Regions from separate parts of the Homo sapiens genome. Here regions 1 and 3 are each linked to region 2. The links are contacts of gene promoters, found by promoter capture Hi-C in blood cells and fetal thymus (Javierre and others, 2016). All regions are on one chromosome and are shown on one strand. Each heading gives the region's core, a stretch centred on a gene start or on the middle of the fragment in contact. The rest is flanking DNA. Distances are from core to core; before and after follow the strand shown. Region 1 holds the start of CYP1A2 (cytochrome P450 family 1 subfamily A member 2). Region 2 holds the start of FAM219B (family with sequence similarity 219 member B). Region 3 has its middle 15 kb from the start of CSK.

What was found. The method cuts DNA at HindIII sites, captures the fragments that hold promoters and counts their contacts. A CHiCAGO score of 5 or more calls a contact.
Region 1: a contact is called between the fragment with the promoter of CYP1A2 here and the fragment with the promoter of FAM219B in region 2, in 6 of 17 cell types (fetal thymus, monocytes, erythroblasts and 3 more). The highest score is 9.1, in fetal thymus.
Region 3: a fragment that was not itself captured here is called in contact with the fragment with the promoter of FAM219B in region 2 in 6 of 17 cell types (non-activated CD4 T cells, activated CD4 T cells, neutrophils and 3 more); the score reaches 6.5 in non-activated CD4 T cells.

Annotation. Positions count from the first base shown.
Region 1 is chr15:74,747,544-74,750,243 of GRCh38, reverse strand. CYP1A2 (cytochrome P450 family 1 subfamily A member 2) reads right to left here and starts at 1,399. Exons shown (of 7, transcript NM_000761.5): 1 at 1,347-1,399; 2 at 1-514. The coding sequence starts at 505. RefSeq lists promoters at 506-1,643, 1,309-2,700. The HindIII fragment of the contact is 9,803 bases long and covers 1-2,700 here.
Region 2 is chr15:74,905,437-74,908,136 of GRCh38, reverse strand. FAM219B (family with sequence similarity 219 member B) reads left to right here and starts at 1,286. Exons shown (of 5, transcript NM_020447.5): 1 at 1,286-1,550; 2 at 1,772-1,859. The coding sequence starts at 1,337. RefSeq lists enhancers at 944-1,223, 1,065-1,869, 1,870-2,676 and a silencer at 1,284-1,583. The HindIII fragment of the contact is 3,941 bases long and covers 208-2,700 here.
Region 3 is chr15:74,765,900-74,768,599 of GRCh38, reverse strand. No RefSeq gene overlaps it. Among named protein-coding and RNA genes, the nearest start is that of CSK, 15 kb to the left of the region's middle. RefSeq lists an enhancer at 489-1,266. The HindIII fragment of the contact is 2,992 bases long and covers 1-2,700 here.

The sequences.
Region 1 (2,700 bases), core at 150-2,649, 160 kb after region 2:
CCTCCTTGCTCACATGCTCCTCCAGGTAGCAGGAGGATGAGGAAGCTGGGTCAGAGGCGATGGAGAAGGTGTTGAGGGCATTCTGGGCCAGGCGCCGGCGGGCAGCCCACACCGGTCCAGAGTCTGTGCTGAAGGTCAAGCTCTGGCCATCAGTGATGAGGGTGGAGGTGTAGAGGTCAGGCCGGCCCTTGAAATCGTCGCCCTGCCGCACCAGGGCCTGCCGGATGGTGTCCAGGCGGCTCAGCACCAGCACGGGCGTGGAGCCAATGCGGATCTGCAGGACGTCCCCGTAGCGCTGGCTCATCCTTGACAGTGCCAGGTGCGGGTTCTTCCCCAGGGTCAGCACATGCCCGAGCAAGGGCCAGCCCCATGGCTCTGGTGGACTTTTCAGGCCTTTGGGGACCCGAGGCCTCAAACCCTTGAGCACCCAGAATACCAGGCAGAAGATGGCAGAGGCCAGGAGAAGCTCTGTGGCCGAGAAGGGAACAGACTGGGACAATGCCATCTGTACCAACTGCAGGGAAAAAAGGAGGGACCAGGCTGAGGGTTGAGATGGAGACATTCATTCATTCATTTCCTCAGTCATTTGATAAACACTGATGCGTGTTCTGTGCTTGGCTCCCAGCTGGATACCAGAAAGACTAAGCTCCATCTACCATGCGTCCTGGGCCCACAGAGCTCACCCTTTGAGCATCACAGAATCTGAGAGCTGGAAAGGAGCCTCAAGATTCCCAACATGAACGCTGGCTCTCTCCTCCACACATCATCTCAGTTTCCACTTCTGGGGCTGGAGTAGAGGCAAGTGACCACTCCAAAATGGGGAAGCCAAGGACAGCACCCTTGTCAGCCCCTGGCACAGCATGCATGCTGGGTATTGTACCAAAGAGTCCCTGCCAGTGCTGGCTTTCTGCTGATACCTTCCATATACCCAAGGGACCAGGAGTTCCCCCTACCCAGTGACACTGAGGTGGCCAAGGTCCCAGGGCTGGTTCAAATAGCCTGTGATGCCCCCTCCCCAGGGCATTCTTTATCAATACCAGGAGGGGCACCTCCTCCAGGGATGAGTCCCCATCCTCTCACAGTCTTGGAGGTTGGGGTTGGGCTTCAGCCAGGGCCAGGGCTGCCCTTGTGCTAAGGGGGAAGCCCTCCCCATCGCTCTCCTTAAAAATGGCTTAGTCCAAACTGCTCATTTAAAATCGGGAAACAGAAGTCAAGAGCTGGGTAGCAAAGCCCGGAACTCAGGACCCCTACACCTAGCCCAGGCTCCCCGTCTTTCTGTCCCCACTAGCTTCCAGGTTCTATAGTTGGGGATCCCAGAGATTGTAAATTGGTCCCAAGAAAGGTACCTGTAGAGGCAGGTGCTTGAGATTGGCAGGGTTGTAATGGCTGGTGTGGAGCTTCTGGCTCTAGGTGAGTGGCCTTTTTATAAACACCGCCCCCTATCAGATTGGCCTGGTTGTCCTGATCACCTGATATGAAAGCTGGATCACTGAACAAAGTTGGAAGGATCAACTCTTGGCCTTGGGCCATTATCCCTCAGCTCCACCTACTACCTAAGACCCAGGGTGACTCTTTGGGGATAGGCCAGAAGGGGTGCTGGGTCCCTGGGGATGAAGGTACAGCTGTCTTTAGGGTTCAGGGTAGGGAGCCTATTTCTCTGAAGAGTAGGGTAGGGTCTGGGAGTGGGGGTTAGGCCTTTGGACTGATCTGGGCTTCTTTCCCACTGCACACATGAGGAAGAGCTCTGCCAGGGCACTCAGTCTAGGCCAACCAGGCTCACGGCCCCTCTCCAGAGGGATGTTCTTCTGTAGTACCCTCCAACAACCTGCAAAACCAAACAGTAAATGGGCGTGTTCCAGCCACTCCTGATTTTCAGCCCAAGTCCCCAAGTGGAAAAGAAGAGATGATAAAGATTTTGCATCCTAAAGAGAGGCCCCCCTTATGCAAAAAGACTAAGAGACATAACCAAATGCAATATGGATTTGCATTTGATTGCCATATCGATTGGATATGGCATTTAAACAAAATTTTAAAAAAATCTATAAAAGATGTTTTGGGGACAATTGGGGACATGTAAGCACGGACTGGAGATTAGATGATATTCTGGAATAAATGTAAATTTTTTTAGGTGTGAACAGAGTGTCATGGTATGTGGGAGTGTATCCTTATTCTTAGGAGATTAATGCTGTAGCATGGAAGTGTCATGATCCCCACAACCTCCTTTTGAATGGTTCTGTTAAAAAATGTACACCTCTAGGCCAGGCGCGATGGCTCGCACCTGTAATCCCAGCACTTTGAGAGGCCGAGATGGGCGGATCACCTGAGATCAGGTGTTCAAGACCAGCCTGGCCAACCTGGTGAAACTCCGTCTCTACTAAAAATACAAAAATTAGCCAGGCATGGTGGCATGTGCCTGTGATCCCAGCTACTCGGGAGGCTGAGGCAGGAGAATGGCTTGAACTTGGGAGGTGGAGGCTGCAGTGAGCCAAGATCGTGCCACTCCACTCCAGCCTGGGCGACAGAGTGAGACTCCGTCTCAAAAAAAAAAAAAATGTACACCTTTAAAGAGTGTAATTGGATTGTTTGTAACTCAAAGGTTTATCCTTGCTTGAGGGGATGGATACTCCATTCTCCATGAATGCTTATTTCATATTGCATGCCTGTATCAAAACATTTCATGTACCCCATACATATATACAC
Region 2 (2,700 bases), core at 37-2,536:
AGTAGAGATGGGGTTTCACCATGTTGGCCAAGCTGGTCTTGAACTCCCTACCTCGGGTGATCCGCCTGCCTCAGCCTCCCAAAGTGCTGGGATTACAGATGTGAGCCACTGTGCCCGGCCAGAAAACTACTTCTTTGGAGTCCACAGGCAACTGGGTACAAATTCCAGGTTTATCACTTAACTGGTAAACTTGACCAAGTCTAAGCTTCATTTGTTTAACAAGAATAACTATTGGCTTCATTGGGAGGTTATAACCATTAAATACTAAGTTGAGCTATATGAACCTGCTGTTTCTGGAGGCAAAAACAGTCTAACATCATGGGGAGTGGGGGGAATCTACCAAAATGGTAAGGATTCCTTTGTGCTTTTGATTTTTGAAAACTTCAGCCCTAAATTCTTCCTTTTCACCTCTCTTGCCCAAGGCATAGTGCCACCCAACGGTCTGCGTGGCCCTGGGAGCTCGGAGGTTGCACACTGTTGACCTACCCTATTGAAGCCAGTAAGTTAGTCAAGGGACAGCCTCATGAGATTTGGGAGTTCTACAAGGATCTGGAGTTTCTTTCCAGCCAGTCACAAGCACATCCCTTGGGGGCTAGAGAAGTCAAGAGCCCTGACACATAGCCTACCACACACAGACTCAGAGTGCACTTTCACCCTCCTTTTCAACGCCTATTTGCCTCACTGTACAATGAGTAGTGACATTGGCTCTATTTTTAAATGTGGAAACTGAGGCCTAGAGAGGGTCAGGTCCTGTCCAATGTCACAGGCACCAATTGGTGTTGGAAAGAAGGTGGGGTTTGGCGTCAGATGGATCAGCGCAAGCACTGCCTCTAGATGTGTCACCTTCACAAGGTTCTTTAACTTCTGGGGCCTGTTTCTTTTGCTAGAAAAGGTCGCTGATAACGCTTGTCCTCATATGACTCTTCAACCCAAGTCTGCTCTCTGGCAGCCCCACATGTGGGGAGACCCCCAAGGAGACACTGCGAGAAGCACAGAGTGCGGCGCGCCAGGACTCAAACCGTGGGCACCCGACCGACGCACACGCGCAGCCCCACGACAGTATCAGTATTTAATTTCCACTAGAGACAGAACTAAGCCTAACCATCACCAGGCTCAAGCCGCCTACCCCAAAACCGAGAACGGAACTGCCCGGTCCCCCCGAAAAGAAGGGCGGAACATTTCGGCCAAGTCCTCAGACTACCGAACCGGAGAGCTCCGAAAGGGGACTACCTGCGCCTGCGCACCGCCATCTTGTTAAAAGAGCCCGCCTCTCCCTCGGCCGGTCACTCTTTCGCCACGGGCGGGGTTGCACCATCCGGCAGGGCGGGGCCCGGCCATGGCGACCGCGGAGCCCAGCGGGCGCGCGTTGCGGTTGTCTACCCCGGGACCCCGGCCCAGCGGGGCTCGGGACCGCGCGCCGGGAGCTGCGGGGCCACCCTCCGGGCAGATCGGTAATAGAGCCCTCCGTCTGGGGGAGCGCACCCCCGCGGCCGTGGAAAAGCGGGGGCCATACATGGTGACGCGCGCACCCTCCATTCAAGCCAAGCTGCGTGAGTGTGGCCCGATGGTCGGGGGAGGTTTCTCCCTGGGCGGGCGGCCGCGTCCCCAGGGCGGGTTCCGGAGCTCCGCTGGGCCTCGGCCCCGGAGGGAAGGGGTTAGCTGCAGCCTGCTCTCGCCCCTCAAAATCCGTTCGGAAAGAGCGGCCTCCCAGCCTTCGGGAGACGCGGCGGAGTGGGGAAGACCCGGCTGACCCGGGTCCTTTAACTTCCAGAGAAGCACCGGGACCTGGCCAAGGCCGTTCTGCGGAGAAAAGGCATGCTGGGGGCCTCGCCGAACCGCCCAGACTCTTCAGGGAAAAGGTCTCAGCAGGCGCCACCTCCTCTGTGCCAGCAGCTTTAGAGAAGGCTTTAATCCCCAGGACGGAGGCAGGGTGCTCTGGTTTAAGGCCGAGCTAGCGATTCCCCTGATGCAACCTGTCAGGTTCACTATCTTTAAAATGGGAAGAGGAACAATCTCTCTTTTCCTTTAAGGATGTGATAGGATCAGATAAAGGGCTTCGGAATAAGGGAGTTCTGTGAGTGCACAGGCTCATTCACTATCATTCTCCTCCTCTGTTAGGGAGGAGAATGGTGGCTGGAGTCCCCAGCAATGAGGACGAAGAGCAGTGTGGGAATGGCTAGACCTGTTTTTGTTTGTTTGTTTTTAACAGAATAGTAAACTCGGAGCTGCATAGAACCTTATTCAGTGCCTCCTTTTACAGATGAGGGTTGAAACTCGGAGAAGTGAAGGTTAACCCTAACCTTTTACCCAAAGACTTGCAGTTTTTGTGTCCTCTGATTAAATAAGTGGGGAGAGGGTGCTTTTCCTAGATCAGGCAAGGGGAGGTGTGCTTTTTTCCAAGACCTATGGGAGGAGTAGAATACAGGCCGGGCGTGGTGGCTCACGACTGTAATTCCAGCACTTTGGGAAGCCGAGGCGGGTGGATCACTTGAAGTCAGGAGTTCGAGACCAGCCTGGCCAACATGGTGAAAGCCCGTCTCTATTAAAAATACAAAATTAGCTGGGCACGCCTGTAGTCCCAGCTACTCAAGAGGCTGAGGCAGGAAAATCACTTGAGCATGGTAGGCGGAGATTGCAGTGAGCCGAGATCGCGCCACTGCACTGCAGCCTGGGTGACAGGGCCAGACTCTGTCTCCAAAA
Region 3 (2,700 bases), core at 20-2,519, 140 kb after region 2:
AAATAAATAAATAAAAGAAAAGCCCCCAGAGGGCGGCCCTGAGCTCACATAGGACAGTTAAGCAGGGGACTTGAGGCACGGTGGTGAGCTGGAGCTCCTCTGTCATCCCCTGGGTGGGAGGAACCTGGTGCTGGCTTGTGTGTAGTGCGTATCTACCCACTTCAGCCTCCCAAAGTGCTGGGATTACAGGCTCATTGCAGAGCTCCTGGCCTTTTCCCCGGGCAGCCACTCGCAGCAGGCCCAGTGACATCCTGGGTGGATGAGGGCAGGGAACCGAGAGCGGCTGGAGGGGAAGGAGATGGGATAGGACCATTTCTGGAAAGAATGGGTGGATTGGTCACTCAGAGAACAGCAGAACCCAGCCCTTCCAGGAACCATCCCCAGAAGCCCCTTCTGGCTCTGGATGGGCTTTTCTAGATGGGGTGCTACAGGGGTGAGCCCGATGTATATGTGGCTGCCAGGACTCCCCACAGTCCCCTGAGTCTGAGCCCCTGTGCATCCGCAGCTTATGCATGTAGCATTATCAGCGCAGGATGCTCACACTGGTTTAGCACAGTGCGCCTGTAGGCACCGGGAAGTTCTGACTCTCCCTTGGAGTGGGGCCTGGAGCCCCTCTCTGGGTGAGGGGATGGCCTCACCTCTCTCTGGGTGAGAAGGCAGCCCCTTCTCAAACTCATCGGGTGCATCCCTGGGGACACAGGGCAGAAAGACCCATGACCCCCTTTGGGCTCCAAGTTGGGGGTGCAGGGCAGAGGCCAGAGAGCTCAGCCAGAGCCTAGCAGACCCCAGGCGGGCAAGGAGGAAATTATACCGAGTCCCACCCACTGCCTGTTTGCCCAGCTGCAGGGGAGCCTGGCAGGAGCCAGGATAGGATTCTGCAGCCCTGGGGCAGCAGGGACTAGGAGGGGACTGGCCTGGCAGAATGAAGGCTGGGTTTTCAGCCTTGCCCGTACACCACCTTCCTGGAAAGAAGACCTTCTTCCCAGGAAAAGAAAAGCCCCCGGAGGGTGGCCCTTTCCTTCCCGTCCTGGTCTTTACAATCTTGCAAAAGGTCCCCAAATGCATACCTGAAATACCTCTGAGTTCATAGAGCCAAAAAGATCTAGGTTTCAGTTCTGGCTCTTCTGCTTTCCTGAAGAAGCCATCTTCCCTCTCTGAACCTCTGTCTCTCCATCTCTAAATTTGGGTTATTTCACAGGTGAGGCTATGCCTTTCCTAAGAGGGGTGATAATTTGCCTTCAAGCACACAGTAACCCCTTTCCTGCCTCAGGACCTTTGCACAGGTTGGTCCCTCTGCCTAGAACTCTTTTTCCTCTTTTTTTTTTTTTTGATTTTTTATTTTTTGAAGCAAAGTATCGCTCTATCTCCCAGGCTGGAGTGCAGTGGTCCGATCTCGATCTTGGCTCACTATAACCTCCGCCTCCCGGGTTCAAGCGATTCTCCTGTCTCAGCTTCCCGAGTAGCTGGGACTACAGGCATCCGCCACCACTCCCGGATAATTTTTGTATTTTTAGTAGAGACAGAGTTTCACCATATTGGCCAGGCTGGTCTCGAACTCCTGACCTTGTGATCCGCCCGCCTCAGCCTCCCAAAGTGCTGGGATTACAGGCGTGACCCACCGCGCCCACCCTCCTCTTTTCTTTTCTTTTCTTTTTTCAGATGGAGTCTCGCTCCTTCGCCTGGGCTGGAGTGCAATGGCACAATCTTGGCTCACTGCAGCCTCCGCCTCCTGGGTTCAAACAATTCTCCTGCCTCAGCCTCCCGAGTAGCTGAGATTACAGGCATTCACCACTATGTCTGGCTAATTTTGTGCTTTTAGTAGAGACGGGGTTTCTCCATGTTGAGGCTGGTCTCGAACTCCTGACCTCAGGTGATCCACCCGCCTCAGCCTCCCAAAGTGCTGGGATTACAGGCGTGAGCCACCGCGCCCGGCATACCTGGCTATTTTTTTTTTTTTTGAGATGGAGTCTCGCTCTGTTGCCCAGGCTGGAGCGCAGTGGCATGATCTGGGCTTACTGCAACCTCTGCCTCCCAATGCCCAGCTAATTTTTGTAGTTTTAATAGAGACAGAGTTTCACCATGTTGGCCAGGCTGGTCTTGAACTCTTGACCTCAGATGATCCTCCTGCCTCAGCCCCCCAAAGTGCTGAGATTACAGGTGTGAGCCACTGTGCCCAGCCAACCTTTTTTTTTTTTTTTTAATGGGCTCTCGTTCTGTTGCCCAGGCTGGAGTGCAGTGGAGCCATCTCAACTCACTGCAACCTCTACCTCCCAGGCTCAAGCAATCCTCCCACCTCAGCCTCCCGAGTAGCTGGGGTTACAGGCACCCGCCACCATGCCCGGCTAATTTTTATATTTTTAGTAGAGATGGGGTTTTCACCATGTTGGCCAGGCTGGTCCTGAACTCCTGACCTGAAGTGATCCACCCACCTCAGACTCCCAAAGTGCTGGAATTACAGAAGTGAGCCAACGTGCCCAGCCTCCATCTTAACCATTTTTAAGTACACAGTTTAGTGGTATTAAATGCACTCATAATGTTGTGCAGCCATCACCACTGTCCATCTCCAGAGCCCTTTCCATCTTGTAAACCTGAAACCCTACCCATTAAACACTAACTCCCCATTCCCCCTTCTCCCCAGCCCCAGGCAACCACTGTTCTGTCTATCTGTAGGGTTTTGACTATTCTAGGTATTTCACAAAA